Linked DNA regions of Homo sapiens: regions 2 and 3 are each linked to region 1. Evidence: promoter capture Hi-C in human tissues and cell types (Jung and others, 2019). All regions are on one chromosome and are shown on one strand. The core of a region is centred on a gene start or on the middle of the fragment in contact, and the rest is flanking DNA. Distances in the headings are between cores, read along the strand shown. Region 1 holds the start of ZNF66 (zinc finger protein 66). Region 2 holds the start of ZNF708 (zinc finger protein 708). Region 3 overlaps ZNF493 (zinc finger protein 493).

Region 1 (2,700 bases), core at 1-2,500:
CAGTCCCCTGTGGGATGTGAAAATAATTAAGTGGCAGGCAATTAGACTGAAGAGGCTCTAGTCCCCGGATTTCTATTTCTAAAAAAAAAAAAAAAAAAAAATCTAAGCTCAAGTGCATTTTTTGGCAAATTACTACATTAGGGGAAACAAAATTCAGGCTTCAGCAACTATAAACTGCCAATTAAGCTCTAATTACATAACCAGGAAATTTCCACCTTGATTGTACAAATTAAGAAACTACATTACTAAACCTAACAAATTATTGAATTTGGTTTTCCTCATCATGCATTTTATAAATGTCTTTTCTTCAAGCCTCTCCCATGGACCACAAACTACAAACTATAGCTGGGTGCTCTACAATTCTTGAATCACTCTTTGATTAAATTGTTTGATATTTTTGCAGTGACTCCCATAATTTTTTTTTTTTTTTTTTTTTTTTAGACAAGAGTCTTGCTCTGTCGCCCAGGCTGGAGTGCAGTGGCAGGATTTCAGCTCACTGCAACCTCCGCCTCCCGGGTTCAAGCGATTCTCTCACTTCTGCCTCCCGAGAAGCTGGGACTACAGACATTCGCCAACATATCCACCTAATTTTTGTATTTTTAGTAGACAAGGGGTTTCCCCATTTTGGTCAGTCTGGTCTTCAACTCCTGACCTCAAGTGATCCGCCCGCCTCGGCCTCCCAACGTGCGGGGATTACAGGCTTGAACGACCGCGCCCGGCCCCATACAATTTTAATAGCAGAAAAGAGAAACTGTGAACCCCACAGACCAAAGCTCTTCCCATTCATGAACCCGCACCGCGAGTCAGCATTCTCCCCTGAAGACCCTCCGGTGGTCCCTGCACAATCTGGGAGAGACACGGCACTGCGGGTGCAGAGCTGCCCACAGAGCGCTCCAGGCCAGGGGCACAGTCACTGCGCGGGGAAGCGACAGGACGCCCGGGGGCCAGGCTGTCAGCGTAGCCGCCATCTTATGGCTGAATGGGACTGAGGCAGAGCTGGGTAAGGAGAATTCGGGGTGCAGATTGTGGAGCTGACTGAGGGGAGGCCTGAGTCCCGCCACAGACACTTCACCTCTCTCGGGATGCTGGACCGGCACTCTCACCATTTCTAGGCTTCCAGGGGGTCCTGGCGTCTTAGCTGTGGATCTCCCAATACCTGCAGGACACAGGGCCACAGAGGCTGGGCCTCTAGGAGAAGAAGACAGAGAGCAGTGAACAGACGACCTGGAGCTCCAGCTGCAGGGAGAGACAAAGACCCCGCCAAATCCGGAAGCCGTCCTGTTCATTCCAGCTGCGTGCCTGATTGGACGGTTTCCAGCCCAGCGCCTCTGATTGGCTAATGCTTAAGGTCCCGCCCCCTCAGACACTGAGTGACAGAAGATGTGATCAGCTGCTGGGCGGAGTGAAGAAAAGAGTGACAGCCTAAGCTGCAGCCTTTTCAGGCAGGGCTTCCTCCCAGAGCTGAGCCTGGTCCATGCCAGAGCATGGGAACATTTTATCTCTTTTTTACTCTCTGTCTTGTTGAATGTATTCAAAGGTGAACAGAAGTATTTTGCTGTCATATTAATAATACATAAAATTTTTGTTCAAGAGAAAATCAGCTTTTACTTTGGTAATAGTGTATTAACGATTAAAGCTAATTTTAATAAAACCTTATAAATAAATCAAATTTGTCATTTTTGACCACTCCAGATTTACATATATATTTTGTAATCCCTGTAATTTTTTTATCTATTTATATTTTATTTTTATCCACATTCTTCTTATTTTTTCAACTTGAAACAACCTTTAAGTAATTTCAAACTGCTATAAGAGATAGAAATAATTTAGGGTCAGGCACAGGTAGCTCATGCCAGTAATCCCAACACTTTGGGAGGCCAAGGTGGGTGGATCACTTGAGGTCAGGAGTTCAAGACTAGCCTGGCCAACATGGTGAAACCCCATCTCTACTCACAATGTAAAAAATTAGCTGGGTATGGTGGTGCACATCTGTGGTCCCAGCTACTCCGGAGGCTGAGGCAGGAGAATCACTTGAACCCAGGAGGTGGAGGTTATGTAACAGCCCAAGGGGTTCATTTTGCCCTTTGCCTAGACAGAGCCAATTCATGAAGACAGGAGAATTTATGGAGGAAAAGTTAAATGTTAAATTTGAACTCAATTGAACGTGGACACAATGGTCACCAAGTCCCAGAACAGGTCCTGGTTGTGAGCCCCTGAGGTGTTCATCCAGAGCTGTATCAAAGAAATGTCTATTTCATTCTATTACTATACATTAGTTGTTGAAAAACAATAGACAATCACAAAAACAACTTGACCCTTTTGTGTTCCGTGAGGCAAGTCCCAAATGGCCCTCCTCACTGGGCCTTATGCCAAACAACTCGTTACAAAAGAGCTAGGGTCCCAGACCACCCTGAAGCTTCATGAGACTCCTTGTCTGTGCATGAATGGGTGGCCGACTCTGGAGCCTGGGCTGTTTCTTCCTACTCAGTTGGTAATCCTCCATAGTCTAGTGAGGGTAAATATATATATATATCTTTTCCCATCTCCTCTTCTTACTGCAATTTGCTTATTATATCAATCTGTGTATTATATTTATTTGCTTATTATATCATTTGCTTATTATATCATTAGTTTATTCTGTCTGCATTGATATTGATGTGGGTTAAAGCTTGTTTACCATTAAAGTTATTGTATGTATGT
Region 2 (2,789 bases), core at 184-2,683, 550 kb before region 1:
TCTGAACTGCGATGTGCTAGAAAGGTAAAATACGAGTTAGTTTCAAAGGTTTAGTTCCATATATATAGACACACTTCATTAATAATTACATATTTCTCACATATTAAAATGACAATATTTTCGATATATTGGGTTAAATTGTTACAATCAATTTCACCTGTTCTTTGTTTCTTTTTAAAAATAGAGCTAAACTCTTTTTAAAGTTTGGCTACAAATTAGCCGGGCATGGTGGCCAGCGCCTTTTATCTCAGCTACTTGGGAGGCTGAGGCAGGAGAATCGCTTGAACCCGGGAGGCAGAGGTTGCAGTGAGCAGAAATCGCGCCATTGCACTCCAGCCCAGGCAACAATGTGAGACTCCGTCTAAAAAAATAAAAATATAAAATAAAGTTTGGCTACTAGAAAATTTAAAATTTACATGTGGCTCACATTTTATGATTTTATTTTATTTATTTATTTTTTTTGAGACAGAGTTTCACTCTTGTTGTCCATACTGGAGTGCAGTGGCGTGATCTCGTCTCACTGCAACCTCCACCGCCCAGGATCAAGCGATTCTCCTGCCCCAGCCTCCCAAGTAGCTGGGATTACAGGCGCCTGCCACCATGCCCAGCTAATTTTTTTGTATTGTTTTAGAGACGGGGTTTCACCATGTTGGCCAGACTGATCTCGAACTCTGAACCTCAGATGATCCACCCTCTTCGGCCTCCCGAAGTACTGGGATTACAGGCGTGAGGTACAGCGCCCAACTTGTGGCTCACATTTTATTTCAGAGAATTGCCTCCTTTTTAAAATCTCAGGCTGCCTGCTCAAAGGACCAGAAGTCAGGAAGGTCACAAAATATAAAATTTTAGAACAGTTGGGCCGGGCGCAGTGGCTCATGCCTGTAATCCCAGCATTTTGGGAGGCCGAGGCGGGAGGATCACCTGAGGTCTGGAGTTTGAGACCAGCCTGACCAACATGGAGAAACCCCGTCTCTACTAAAAATACAAAAAAATTAGCCGGGCATGGTGGCGCATGCCTGTAATCTCAGCTACGCGGGAGGCTGAGGCAGGAGAATCGCTTGAACCCGCGAGGTGGAGGTTGCGATGAGCCAAGATCGCGCCATTGCACTCCAGCCTGGGCAACAAGAGTGAAACTCAATCTCAAAAAAAAAATTTTTTTTAGAACAATTGGGTTATTATATTCTTTTCATTTGTGAATAGCCATATAGCATATTATTTATAAGGGCATATGACCTTATACACAAGATTAAAGGCAAACACCCTCTCGGGTGGGCCTGGCTCAGCTCAGGGAGGAAGCCTTGCCTGAAAAGGCTGCAGCATAGGCTGTCACACTTCATTCAGCCCAGCATCTGATCACATCTTCCGTCCCTCAGGGCCTGAAGGGGCGGGTTTTAACATTATCCAATCAGGGACTCTGAGCTGGGGACAGTTCACTCAGACACGCAGCTGGACCGGACAGGGCGGCTTCCGGGTTTGGCGCGGCCTTTGTCTCTTGCTGCAGCCGGAGCTCCGGTCTCGTCTTCACTGCTGTTTGTCCTCTGCTCCTAGAGGCCCAGACTCTGTGGCTCTGTGACCTGCAGGTATTGGGAGATCCACAGCTAAGACTCCAGGACCCTCTGGAAGCCTAGAAATGGTGAGAGTGCCGTCCGACATCCCGAGAGAGGGGAAGGGCTGGTTGAAACCTGTGGGAAGTGGCTGTGGCGGGACTCAGGACTCCCCGCAGTCATCTCCACAATCTGCGCTCCGAGTTCTCCTTGCCTAGCTCGGCCTCAGTCCCCTTCAGCCATAAGATGGCGGCTGCGCCGACAGCCGGGCCCCCGGGCGTCCTGTCTCTTCCCTGCGCAGTGACTGTGCCCTGGCCTGCAGCCCTCTCTGGGCGGCTCTGCACCGGCAGCGCCGCGCCTCTCCCAGATTGTGCAGGGACCATGGGAGGGTGGTCAGGGGAGAATCCTGACTTGGGGTCGGGTTCATGAATGGGAAGAGCTTTGGTCTGTGGGGTTCCCGGTTCCTATTTTCTCCTATTAAAAATCTGTGGCAGTCATCGCAAAAAATATTAAAGAATTTAATCAAAGAGTGATTCAATAATTGTAGAGCACAAAAGTATGTTTTGTAGTTTGTGGTTCATGGGAGGAGCTTGAAGGAAAGACTTTTTATAAGGTGCATGATGAAGAAAACTATATTTAATAATCGGTTAGGTACATTTACGTAGCTGTTGCTGTTAAGTAGAAAGCCGGGGACTAGAGCCTCCTCAGTGTAATTGCCTGCCACTTAATTATTCTCACACTCCACAGGGGACTGATTTTCCCCTGCATTTTTCACATGCGTTCCAAGCGGGGTCTCAAGTGTACCTCCCAGCCCCATTCCTCCAGCCTAACTCTGGCCTGCAGTTAGATTTAAACTGCAAATAAACTAAAATACTAAATTTCTAGTTCCTTCTGACATTTCCAAATGCCAGCTTGCCTTTCCTAATTCACATTCTCAACTGTTTTTCCTTTAGTGTACATTTTTGATACTGTATTTTAGTTAATCATTTTTTGACAAAGCATTGGATGGCACTTAAAATTGTTTTCTGGTTGAAAATATTTCTCATGAGAAGAAAGCAAAAAATAATTCCCTGACACTGTATTTTATGAAATTTCTATGGCTTTTTTTTTTTTATCTTCCTCAGGCACAGAAATCTTATCAGAATGTTTGTTTTCAGGTGAAGGTTTTTCTTTGGAAACTTTACGGAGTGATGTGTCTTCAGCCACCCTTCAGTTTTTTCCTGGTCCTGGGTTTCAGTACTGTCT
Region 3 (2,761 bases), core at 166-2,665, 630 kb before region 1:
CTGAGAAAATTCTTGTAAAGAAGTCAGCACCACCTATTTACCTGCTAGCCTCACAACCACAGAAAAAAAGAAGAACTGCAGAAAAAGCCCACTCACTTTTGTCCTTTATAACAGGAGAGATTCAGGAACAATGAGCTGCTCAATGAATATAAAAATATGTTTCTCTATTTGTCTTCATGTGCCTGCCCTTGCCACAAACACCAGCAATTTCTGCTATAGTAATGAAAATATGGGTGACACTGACCTCTTCCTATCAAAACCAAACGGAACAGTTCCTGTGACCACCTTTTAGTGCAAAGGTGAAACTTAACTCTCATGAATCTATCTTGAACCCCACACACTTAATTCTGTCCTCACCTTAAGAGTCACATGAGACACAATTAAAACATGAATACTTTCACCTAGAACAATACACAGAACCTGTGGAGAGAGCACAAGTAAAGAGATTTCTGCAAATTGGCCATGTAATCCCGACACAATTCTGTCCCTGACATCCTCAAATGTCTTAAAGACACCTAGGTGATTGTGAGACGGTTCTCAGTGACTCAAGGCTGATGGCCCAGTGATAAGCCAGGCTGAGAGAGATTCATGCTGATTCTAAATAGAAAATGGAACTGCTTTGGTGGAACTCCAGAACCTGGATCACCTATCCTGATGTGCTAGCTTTTGGGTAAGAAGGACAAGAATACTCTACTCCATTATTACAATTTACAGGTAGGTATAGTTGTGGTCATAGCTCTGGATACTTTGTGGCCTTATCCCTCACTCTTAAGATGCTTGTTTACACTTATAGATTCTGTCATCAGATTCTATTTATACCTGGAGCCTCTCATATAACTGTAGCAGGTCACTAAACAAGATCTGAAAAGCTTAAAAAGCCACACTCTCAAAGGGGGGCTTTAAGATGTCTATGTTGACATCTCACAATGCAGAAAATGCATTTTGTTGGTTTTCATTACATTCACAATTGAAAGTCTGGCCCTGTCTTGTAAATCCCAGGCAGAGGCCTGACCCTATGTGCAGATTCTAAGTGGGGTTAGCCTGACTCTGCATTCTTGGGTGTTACAGCAAGCAGAGTACAATCAAAGGAGAGATCCCTTCATAGAGGCTCCTCTAGCCCATTCTATTAATATGTCTACCTAAAAGGAAAAAACTGAGGAAACATGAATATAATTAGAGAGTTCGTCAGGGCCAAGCTTGAGGATTATAACCTTGGAACAATGATACATCCTGCAAAGACTGAACAAATAAGAAATTGAATCCCTGAATAGACCAGTAACAAGCTCCAAAATTGAATTAGTAATAAATAGCTGGCCAGGGCCAGGCATGGTGGCTCATGCCTGTAACCCCAGCACTTTGGGAGGCCAAGGCAGGTGGATCACAAGGTCAGGAGATCGAGACCAGCCTGGCTAACACAGCGAAACCCCATCTCTACTAAAAATACAAAAAATTAGCCGGTCGTGATGGCGGGTGCCTGTAGTCCCAGCTACTCGGGAGGCTGAGGCAGGAGAATGGCATGAACCCATGAGGTGGAGGTTGCAGTGAGCCGAGATCGTGCCACTGCACTCCAGCCTGGGTGACAGAGCGAGACTCCATCTCAAAAATAAATAAATAAATAAAATGAAATAAATAAATAAGTAGATAAATAAATAGCTGACCGGGCATGGTGGCTCACTCCTGTAATCCTAGCACTTTGGGAGGCCGAGGCGAGTGGATCACGAGGTCAGAAGTTCAAGAACAGCGAACAGCCTGGCCAACATGGTGAAACCCCATCTCTACTAAAAATACAAAAATTAGCTGGGTGTGGTGGTGCACACTTGTAATTCCAGCTACTCAGGTGGCTGAAGCAGAGCATTGCTTAAACTCAGGAGGTGGAGGTTGCAGTGAGCTGAGACTGTGCCACTGCACTCCAGCCTGGGCGACAGAGTGAGACTGTCTCAAAAAATAAAATAAAATAAAATAAATAAATAAATAAATAGCCTGCCCACCAAAAATAAAACAAAGAACCACACAAATTTACAGCTGAATTCTACCAGATGTAAAGTAAGAGCTGGTACCACTCCTACTAAGATTATTTCAAAATACTGAGAAAAAGGGACTTCTTTCCAACCCATTATGTAAAAACAGCATTATTCTAATATGAAAATTTGGCAAATATAAAACAAAAAAATAGAAACCTTGAGGCCAATATTTTTAATGAACATTGATGAAAATATCCTCAAGAAAATACTGGAAAACCAAATCCAGGAGAACATCAAAAAGCTAATCCACTACGATCAACTTGGCTGTATCTCTGAAATAAAAGGTTGGTTCAACATGCAATTAATAAATGTTACTCCTCAAGTAAACAGAACTAAAGACAAAAACCACAGGGTTATTTCAGTAGATGTTAAAAAAGCTTGCAATGAAATTTACCATCCTTCATGTTTAAAACTTTCAAAAAACTAGGCATTGGAGGTACATACATCAAAATACTGAGTTATCTAAGTATGACAAACTTACAGCCAACATACAAAATGAACACAAGCTGGAAGCATTCCTTCATGAAAACTGGCACAAGAAAAGAATGCTTTTTCTCAAAACTCTTGTTCAACATAGAATTCAAAGTCTCGGCCAGAACAATCAGGGAAGAGAGAGAAATAAAAGGCATTCAGACAGGAAGAGAGGAAGTCAAACTATTCCTGTGTGCAGATGACAGGATTCTGTATCTTCAAAACCCTACAGTCTCAGTAGAAAAGCTCTTTAAACTAATAAACAACTT

Evidence for each region. Contacts are between HindIII fragments. The study calls those that stand out against the background at their distance.
Region 2: the fragment with the promoter of ZNF708 here is called in contact with the fragment with the promoter of ZNF66 in region 1 in 3 of the 25 tissues and cell types used here (heart right ventricle, spleen and stomach).
Region 3: a fragment that was not itself captured here is called in contact with the fragment with the promoter of ZNF66 in region 1 in 1 of the 25 tissues and cell types used here (pancreas).

What each region holds. Positions count from the first base shown.
Region 1 is chr19:20,774,854-20,777,553 of GRCh38, reverse strand. ZNF66 (zinc finger protein 66) reads right to left here and starts at 1,250. Exons shown (of 4, transcript NM_001355197.2): 1 at 1,104-1,250. The coding sequence starts at 1,106. The HindIII fragment of the contact is 10,177 bases long and covers 1-2,700 here.
Region 2 is chr19:21,328,054-21,330,842 of GRCh38, reverse strand. It overlaps ZNF708 (zinc finger protein 708), which reads left to right and starts at 1,433. Exons shown (of 4, transcript NM_021269.3): 1 at 1,433-1,633. The coding sequence starts at 1,631. RefSeq lists a silencer at 1,120-1,341 and enhancers at 588-1,576, 1,461-1,640, 1,681-1,880. The HindIII fragment of the contact is 12,621 bases long and covers 1-2,789 here.
Region 3 is chr19:21,400,824-21,403,584 of GRCh38, reverse strand. All of the region lies in intron 1 of ZNF493 (zinc finger protein 493), which reads right to left. Among named protein-coding and RNA genes, the nearest start is that of ZNF493, 5.1 kb to the right of the region's middle. The HindIII fragment of the contact is 764 bases long and covers 1,034-1,797 here.